2 separate regions of the Homo sapiens genome follow, and region 1 is linked to region 2. Evidence: promoter capture Hi-C in 16 types of primary human blood cells and fetal thymus (Javierre and others, 2016). All regions are on one chromosome and are shown on one strand. The core of a region is centred on a gene start or on the middle of the fragment in contact, and the rest is flanking DNA. Distances in the headings are between cores, read along the strand shown.

Region 1 (4,993 bases), core at 1,169-3,668, 900 kb before region 2:
AAGCTTGAGTGTCTTTAATTTCACCGGTCTGTCAAACGTAACGCGTCTCTCCCTCACCCCACATTTTAAGTTTCCAAGGAGCGGAAGAAGGGCCTCCGGGGGTCCCGGCCGCCGCAGGCTGCTGGGGGTGAGGACACGACTCGGCCTCCGTCCGACTCGAGGGTGTCGCGAAGGCCAGGAGGGAACGAAAGTTACCCTCGAACTTCGGAGGCGAAAGATTTCATGTGGATCTTAAAAAGGGCAAAACCTACCCCAAAGGCCGTAAACCGCCCTCCCCTCCCCCGCCAGAGAACTTCCCGGCGCAGAGCTTCCGCAGCCTGCTGCAGGCCGGGAGACCTTCACGCTCACTCGCTCTCCGCCACACGCCGGAACTGCGCGGCCACGTCCACGGGGACCCTGGCCATGCCCCGCACCGCCACCCAGCCCCAGGCGATCCCCGGGCCCCACGCGCCTGCAGTCGGCGCTGCGCCTGCGTGGGAGGATCCGGCGGAAGGGGCGGGGTCAGGTGGCACTTCCGTGGCTTCGGGCGGGTGAGTATGGGGAGTGCGCGCGGCGTCCAGGAGTCGGGACTGGGCTCCCGCCTACGGCCGCCCTCCCGCCGGGGGGCCAGCGCGGTCCTCCGGGGCGCCCCCTGGAGGATTTGGGGTGGGGGAAGGAAAAGGAGAGTATTATCGAATATTCTCCTAATATTGATGTTCGGGGTGCGGATATGTGTGGACAGGCAGGAGTCGGCAAATGGGTTCAAATGGAAGCTTTAACAAAGAAAGGCCCTGTACGTAAACAGTGTTTTAAAATTCTCATCTTGGTTAGGTTTCTCAGGTTATCTCTGAGCCACAGCAAGGCAGCTTTGTTAAGGTGGCTCTTCCCTTGTCGCTGCCAAACCCGGTAAATGGTTAACCTGAGGCCGCGTCAGAGAAAGCCACTATGACTCCTACCAAAGAGTGAAATTGAAACTCTTTTCTGGGAAATCAAATCCAGGATATAAAAGTTGGATTCAAACTAAAAGTTACAAACAGTATCTAGGTTCCGTCACATGGCGTGCCGGGCAGGGTCTAAATCTCTTTCAGCAGAGGGCATGCTGTCTTCATATGTATTTCTCATTAGAAAATGAAAGACGACCTAAACCAAAATAATATAAAAATTTTTTATTATCTGTCTTAAGAGTTGTACCCTAATCCATATGTTTAGAAAACATAAACTAATAAAACTTTTCCAACTTGGTAGAAAGCCAAAAGTTTCCAGAAAAACTGTGTGGATTATTCAGCATTTTGCTGTTGTCTACAATGTTCAGAATATTCTTTTACAATAATTTTGCACTAAATACCGGTTTGTGTTCAGGGTAACAAGAGGTTTTTAAAAAGTCAAAGACAAGGACAGGTTTTTTAAGGGCTGTATTCTATTAGGAGAGACAAAACAAGCATGAAAAGTTACATATCCATAAGAAATGTAAATCACCATTTGAGATATTTGAAGATGTCAAAAGAAAACCTTTATTTAGAATGGAAAGAGCTGGTGAATGCTCGAAACATTTACCATTTAGCTGATTGTTGCCATGTGGGAATGGGGGTCTCTCAAACGCAGATCCGATTTTCTCCAACACAGGCCAAAGATCTGTATTTTTACGTATTTTTTCTTGATTTTTAATGTTACTTGCAACCAATTTAGTTAACACACACCTTCTGTGGGTGGGCCAGGTGCAACTAGTTTGTGACCTCTGCAGATTTTCACCTTAGTACAGTCCTACACTTACACAATGGTTCAGTTAAAGATTTTTTGACTTTACAGTGGGTTTATCCAGACACAGACCCGATTGTAAGATGAAGACTCTTTGTATTCAGAAATAATTGGAATTAGAGGTCAGAAAAAGTCCTAGAGACTGGGATGGTCAGGAAAGATTTTAAGCTGGGTAGTATAGGAGAGATATCATAGAGGGGGAAGGATGTAAAAGATGAGTTAAATCTTGGGGTTGGGAGAGTTGGCAGGTTTGGAAGATAGTAAACTCTCCTTAGAGGAATTTTGGAAAGGCAAGCGCAAGAGGTGCTGCTGGCCTGGGGACTACACTTTGAGAACCACTGTCCTAGGGTACGGTGAACTTTTGGAGGAATTTGAGTAGGAGGCTAAGGAGATCACATTCACCTTTCAGAATGAGTCTTGCTGTGAAGTCTGAAAGGAGGACTGAGGAGGGAGAGAGAAAAGAGGAAAGTTTCTTAGAGGTGATTAGCACCTGCTTGATGCCAGGCCCTGTGCCAGGCTCTCTCATGCATACTCATTTATACTCACCATGATCCTGATACGTAGATCTTAATGTTTTCATTTTGTAAGTGAAGGAACTTTGAGAATATGAGAAATTACCCAGGTTCCATAGTTGGTCTCAGAGCTTCCTAGTTCAAGCCTGGATTTGAAATAGGGTGGTAGCAGTGGGAATCAAAACATTTAATGGTGATGGAATTTAGAAAAATAGAGACTTCTCAAGCACATTTAAGCCTAAAAGTAGGAATTGGGAAATCTGAATCTTACTGGAAAAGTGATAAAAAGTAAAGTGGACAGAGAACTTTAGAGAATCCCTTCATGAATTTGGTATTTGTTCTTTATTACTCTTAACTCATGATGACCTATTTAAAACCTATTTAAAAGTTGCTTATTTAAGAAGTCATCCTGCTCTACAAAAGTTTCCTGAAATTATTTGAAAAAGAGAAAATAAAGCCTTCTGTGGTTGGGGGGGGTGGAATATGGTAAACAGATTAATGGCATTTGACAGCTTATCTTCAAATCAAAAGTGATTAGCATTGAGAAATGGAAACACTTGGTACAACACTGCATTGCCTGTACGAATTGTGCTGTGCTGCAGACACTGATCTACTGTATTGATTTAGGAAATTCTGTATGCTTTTTCTTGCCAGAGTAGTTATTGAAATTGAGAATATTCATTGGATCAATTTCAAGATAAATATCCCAAGTCAGACTGGCTGCTGCTGAGCAAATTTTTAATGAAGGAAAATATCCATATATTGAAATCAGTTTAAAAAGAAAGTCCTTAAAATATATTACTGTAAAATCTAGAAAAAAATGTACATTTTAGAAACATCAATTAACTGAGTAATCAGTGTAGTGGAGTTATTGACCCATGCAGAATTATGGTGTACATTCATTAATTCTGTGAGCAAATAATTGTGCTATAAATACAAAGATAACTGATATGGTTTGGCTGTGTCCCTACCCAAATCACATCTTGAATTGTAACTCCCACAATCCCCATGTGTCATGGGAGGAGCCTGGTGAGAGGTGATTGAATTATGGGGACAGGTCTTTCCTGTGCTGTTCTCATGATAGTGAATGAGTCTCATGGGATCTGATGGTTTTAAAAATGGGAGTTTCCCTACACAAGCTCTCTCTTTCCTTGCTGCCATCCATGTAAGACATGACTTGCTCCTCCTTGCCTTCAGCCATGATTGTGAGGCTTCCTCAGCCACATAGAACTGTAAGTCCATTAAACCCTTTTTCCTGTATAAATTACCCAGTCTCGGGTATGTCTTTATCAGCAGCCTGAAATCAGACTAATATACTAGATATGGCCTACTTTTGAGATATCTTACTGAATCTTGTAAAGCTGGGGAATTTCTCTTGTATTTTGATAGTGCTTAGCTTACAAATTGTAGGATGAAGCCATATTCTCGGGAATCATGAAAATTAGTTGAAACATTTTGATTTGATTATTATTATTTTATGGCTGTTATGCTTTTGATGGAGGCAGATACAAAATTCATCAATGCAAAATAATGTTTTACATACTCATTAACATAGTGATTAATGTAAACTATATTTTGACAATGTAAAATACAGTGTGTTTGGCCTCAAAAAAGAAACTACAGAGTTAGCTGCAACTTAAGATAACTGGAAAGGCTCCTTACATTGTTTTTTGCCCACCACCTTTATTATAATAGTTCTATATGATGTCTGGGGAGGGAATTAAAAAATAATACAAAGCTCTTTCAGCTGTGGTTCAGAGAACTCTAGTGAAGCTGTATGGCAATGACACTGTGAGTCCATGAAGTTTCCCCAGAAGTATTTCAATAAGAGGCAGTTAAGAAGCTTAATAGTTTCAAAGTCTGGAAAGCAGCAAATATATCTTAGAGAATTTAAAAACATTATAAATATAAAACCCACTTCTCTCTTACAGAGACATTTTAAAGCATGGACATAACTTTAAGGAGATTGAGAAAACATCAGTAGTTTTCATAAAGCTTCAATGAACACCCCAAGGCACAAGTGTTGAAAATGGCCTGTTCACTAAAATGTCACTTTTGGAGGTACAGGTATACTGTACTTACAGTGAGAGGATGACTTTATCCCTGGTTAAAAGCACCAGGTGTCAAGCTCCACTTCCATTACCCAGGATGCACCAATAATCCCTATGATAGTGAATGGTTCAAGTACTATACTACATTTCCAACATGTCTTTTGCCTATTTGCTTAGTTGGTACTAGGGTTCTTTTGAACCCCACAGGTGTGTAGAATATTTTAAAAGGCTAGAACTACCTCAAAAATAGTCTTGAAATAATACCGAGCCCTTCTAAAAGAGCTCACTGGATATTTTAATAACATTTACAGAAAGAAAGAAAGACAAAATTTGCAGTAGCTGAGTTTCTTTCAAGTGAAGAATAATAATGTAGAACATGTAGTCTAAAATGTTTGGTAATTAATGTCAAAAGTTCCAAGATTATTAATATATATTTTGGTAATCACTATTGGCCAGGTTAATTTTTTGTGCAAAATACACTGTATATTAATAGACTAGGAAAATCATTATTTCAGACCAGTAACAGAAGAAAACCCACAGCTAGAGAAGCATCTATAGGGCAATTAAACGTTAGGGAAGTTTACTAGCTTTAGAATACATTAATACACTTCGATTACAGAAATATTTCATTTTTAAAACTTGAGTGTTTTAATGTACTTTTAGTAACGACCTGATCTAAGGAGCCTTGGAGGCTTG
Region 2 (4,432 bases), core at 944-3,443:
TCCCTAAGCTAGCTACCTTAACCTAGAGAGAGTCACCTGGTATCTTCAACTGTAAAAGAAGCATGTTGGCTTAAAACACTTTAAATATTCCCCTCCCCCTCTTAACATTCTATTATAATTAAACAAAGGAATGAATTATCCTACATTAAAGACAGAAGGACTAGTGGAAATGGGAAATGGCATTTCTATGATACAATAATGTACCAAAATATTAATAAGCAGAGTCTATGGAACACATAAGTTTGCAGAATCTATCTCATACATGCCACTGCAGAAAAGCCCCACGGAAATGATTCAGCATTCAACACCTTTCTTCCCACAGAATATTTAGGAATGCAAGGTAAAAGATATTTTGCCAAACTTAGCCCCTGCAGATTTAAAGTTAAAGATCATACATCCTCTGTAATTTCATCTCAAAACTGAGCAAATAAGAGATCTAACACGAGAAGCGATAGCTAGTGAAGTGTGCATTGCAGATCATGCAAAGGTACTCTAAGTCTTACTATTCATTTAGCTCCGGGGATAGGGGGTCTTCATTTGACAGACCTGATCTTCACAAGAGTTTCCCAAAAGTTCACAGAGCAGCAGTGTTAAAGAAGAAACTATTACCATCAATCAGAGGGAGAAACCACCAGGAATAACTGCTTTATTCTCACAGTTACATATTCTACACATTTTGTTCTAAGTTGAATACAGAAGAACAAAATTTTAAAACAAACAATCCTTCATCTCCACAATTTTGGTTTAAATAATTCCTTTTAAAATGTTCCCGGAAGCTACTTCTAAACAGAGTAATGGGGTGGAGGTTAAGGGGAGAAGGGACCACTGCTGTTCTCCTAAGAGATCATTTCATTCACTTCCATCATGTTTTAACAAAAAGATAAAAATAACTTCAAATATCCTCCTGAGCGCTTCCTACTATGAAATATTGTGCCTGTTCACCTCTATCCTTATTTGCTCCGGTTGCATGAGTTAGGTATTAAACCTGTCAATAAGCTTGGAAACTGACAAACAAGGTCAAAAAGACAAGCGAATTGAATAAATTCAATTAATGTTTATGAAAAGTAGTACAAGATTGTCTAAAGGTGTTGGGGGGGGCATAAAAAACTAATATTTCTAATGTTCCCACCAGTGCCCATCATCTCCTGTACAAAGCTCCCACTATTCAGAGATCTAAGTATGCTTTCAGTCCATCCACATTTCCTTGCCAAAACACACACTACACTACACTACACATAGTCTAACAGTCTGTATCTGTTAGACTGCTAGTATAGCAACTGAATCCCGGCAGCACACGGAAGTATGCTGTAATGAAGTGTCCTGTAATCAAAGAGTGCAACGTGTCAGTCGGCTTGGGAGTTTCTGGAGCACCAGCAACTACAGCAAATCATCACTCTCCAACATGTGGGCCATAAAATCTGAGTTGGGGGCGGAGGTGTCCCTTTTCTTGTTTTTCCTCCACTTTTTTTTTTAATGTGGGGGCGGGGAGGACTCGAAAGTAGACTCGATAATGAGGTCCACTCCAAGATAGATACGGAACTCTTAGCAACCTAGATTCCCTTGGGATAGGATGCTACTTTGAAGGCAAGAGGAGTAAGTTTCATTCTCTGTAACCTCACTTCTTGACACTCAGGATAGTCATTGTTTGTCTACGGAAAAGGCTACCTGCCCTCAAATTCCTTTGCCTCGTTCCTAATTACAAGTTCCCTCTGGGGTTGGTAAATTAGAAAATCAGCAAAAGGGCCAAAGGCTGGTCAGTGCCCCCTGAAATTGGCAAGCGCTTGCAATGAGGGTTGCCCCACCTTTCCAAGACTCACAAATTAGTTCTGAAGTGGGAGCCGCGGTGGAGCCGGCAGAGGTGCAGCACTTACCCCCATTCACCCCTATGGACGGCTCCAGTTTAGCTCCAGCGATCGCCAGCACTATTCCGACCATGAACCAGTCTTTCCTCATTCTCTCCAGCAGCCTCATATTTGTTAGGGTGGGTGGGTTTTGTTTATTTGTTTGGCTTTTTTTCTTTTCAAGCTCCGATCACCTAATCCTTGGAGCGTCTCCACACTTTCCTTGGTCCCTCCAGACATGCAGCAGAGCAAGTCAAATTGCCGATTGTAAAGTAAAGACCTGGGGGTTGCTCCGGCGGCTTTGAGGAGGGTTGGGAGTAGTAGTAGCCAGTGACAGGAAAGTCTCACTGAGCGCCGCCATCACTACCACGCGCCTCAGAATACACGCGCACAAACGCCCCCAGCGCCTCTGGCCGCGGGCTCGCAGGTGCAGATGCTTTGAAATGAAGAACTCGGACCAGGCCGACAACGTGGGCGATCCGGCAAGGGAGGCTGGCCGCCGGATGGGGCTGACAAGCGCACCGCTGTCGAGACCTGCGGAACCTTCTGAATGACGAGGGGTCGGGGAGAGCGTCGTAAGGCGCCACAGCCAGCAAGCCTCACTGACTGTCCTTTTCTAACAAACCTTTAGGCACAGCCACCCACCCTTCTGGAGCATATCTCCATGGAGAGCCTCTCTTTTGCTGTGCCATGACTCCGCGGGCAGGGCTGACGTGTGCTTGGGGCAAGGGATTTCTCCGTTGAAGCTGCGGCAGCGGGGTGCAAGTTTGGAGACGCGCTTCTTCGGGACATTACGGCGCTTCCACGACGCTAGCGCTGACGTATGCGCGGGGGGGAGGGGAGGCCACTCTGGATCTCCGAGTTCCCAGCCTGAGCTGCCGGAGTTAGAGGTGTCCGCGCGGGAAAGTGGCTCGCTGGTGGGCGGGGAGCCTTATCTCTGGCGGTGGGTTGAAAATCCGGCGCCGGGCAGATGCCCACGTTCGCTGGACCCCTGCTTGCCGGCGTCCGCTACAACCCAAGGAAGGTGGGCCCGACCTCGCCAGGTCGCTCGCCTGCGGGTGGGCATTTGGTCCGGATCCCCTTCCCTCTGCGGCCCACACCTGTCTCCGGGACTGGGGAGGGCTGCAGGGATCGGGGCAGATCTGCCTTTGCGGGCCGAGAGTGACAGCTGAAGTCTCCCCACCAACTAAGCTACTCGCGGGCGGAGTGGGGTCTGCGCTGGCAAGCCCCTGGGCGCGCGGGTGCCCGCTCTGGCTCGCCCCCAGGGCTGACCTACCCAAGCCACAGGAAAACTCTGGGAAGAGGGTCGCGGATTCCAACGCGGAAGTGGTGGGGGATTGAGTCTGAGAGGTTGGGGAGTCCTACCTTCCATTGCCACGAGTGCTAGTTCTATCTGCCAGTTTCTTCCTTGAAATGTCTTGTGGCAACCAGTGACATTGATGGTTTCATGAATGGACTTCCTACCGGTAGACCCTGCAAGAGCATGAACTCCACTGTATCATTCATCCAAATGAAGAAAGAAAGAAAATAGTATGTGATATTTTGAAATAACCTGGCATCTGCCACTTAAATGGTTAAAAATAGAACTTAAGGTTTGGAAGAGATTGTTTCGTGATGACAGACTTTAATTCTGAATTTATTCAAAGCTGGAAAGACACTCGTCGTGTCATTTCCTCTATTTAATTTAGCTTTATCTTGATGGCAAGACTTCCAGAAACTAAGCCACTTTAAGAGTTGTGCTCCCAGTTGTAGGTTACACAGTACCAAGTGTCATCTAATTATACATCAGGCAACATGAAAAAAAATTAATTTCAAGATAAAAAGAACTTAACAGGGAGACATAGATGACATTAAGCAGTTTACTCTGAAAAGAGACAGGTACATGAAATATAAAATTTGATGTTAGTTGTCAGGCAGTCAGAAGATAAGTGAAGATAAATGAAAGATAGTTTACAACATAATTATTTTCTTATAGTAATTTCTTAGTAGGTTAAAGAGTCATACGTCTCAGTCATTGAAGGGATAGTTTTGTATTAAAACATCATTAAACATTAAGTTTACAGAAATTGAGCTGTTTTAACTGTACAGCTATTCACAAATTATTTACTAATACCTCTTTGATCTGTGTAGAGCAGAATCTAACTCAGAGATTTTTTTGTTCTGTTTTTAATGGTACTTAAAGGAAAAGAATATAATGTACCATGAATTATATTCTCTTAAGGCCTGTATTTGTTTGCTGTGGATGCTGAAACAAATACTCGAACTTGGATGCCTTCAAACAACAGAAATTTATTATCTCACAGTTCTGGAGGACAGAAGTCCAAAATCAAGATTTTGGCAGAGCCATACTCCCGCTGAAGGCTCTAGGGGAGAGTCCTTCCTTGCCTTTTCTAGTTTCTGGTGGTGCCTTCCTTGGCTTGTAGCTAGAGTGTTCCAATCTCTGCCACTGTTTTCACATCACATTCCCCTCTGTATTTCTTTCTAGTGGCCACATTATTCTAGTTTCTGCATCCATCTTCACGTTGCACCTCCTTTTCTGTGTATCTTTTATAAAGACACTTGTCATTGGATTTAGGGCCTACCCAGATAAT

Evidence for each region. Contacts are between HindIII fragments. The CHiCAGO score rates a contact against its expected background, and 5 or more counts as called.
Region 1: a fragment that was not itself captured here is called in contact with the fragment with the promoter of SLC10A7 in region 2 in 1 of 17 cell types (fetal thymus); the score reaches 5.8 in fetal thymus.

The regions. Positions count from the first base shown.
Region 1 is chr4:145,618,878-145,623,870 of GRCh38, forward strand. MMAA (metabolism of cobalamin associated A) reads left to right here and starts at 508. Exons shown (of 7, transcript NM_172250.3): 1 at 508-530. It also overlaps the pseudogene NCOA4P3. RefSeq lists silencers at 337-776, 807-876. The HindIII fragment of the contact is 3,337 bases long and covers 751-4,087 here.
Region 2 is chr4:146,519,747-146,524,178 of GRCh38, forward strand. SLC10A7 (solute carrier family 10 member 7) reads right to left here and starts at 2,194. Exons shown (of 12, transcript NM_001029998.6): 1 at 1,872-2,194. The coding sequence starts at 1,971. RefSeq lists enhancers at 1,322-1,551, 1,992-2,061, 2,282-2,361, 2,372-2,791, 2,962-3,041. The HindIII fragment of the contact is 7,940 bases long and covers 995-4,432 here.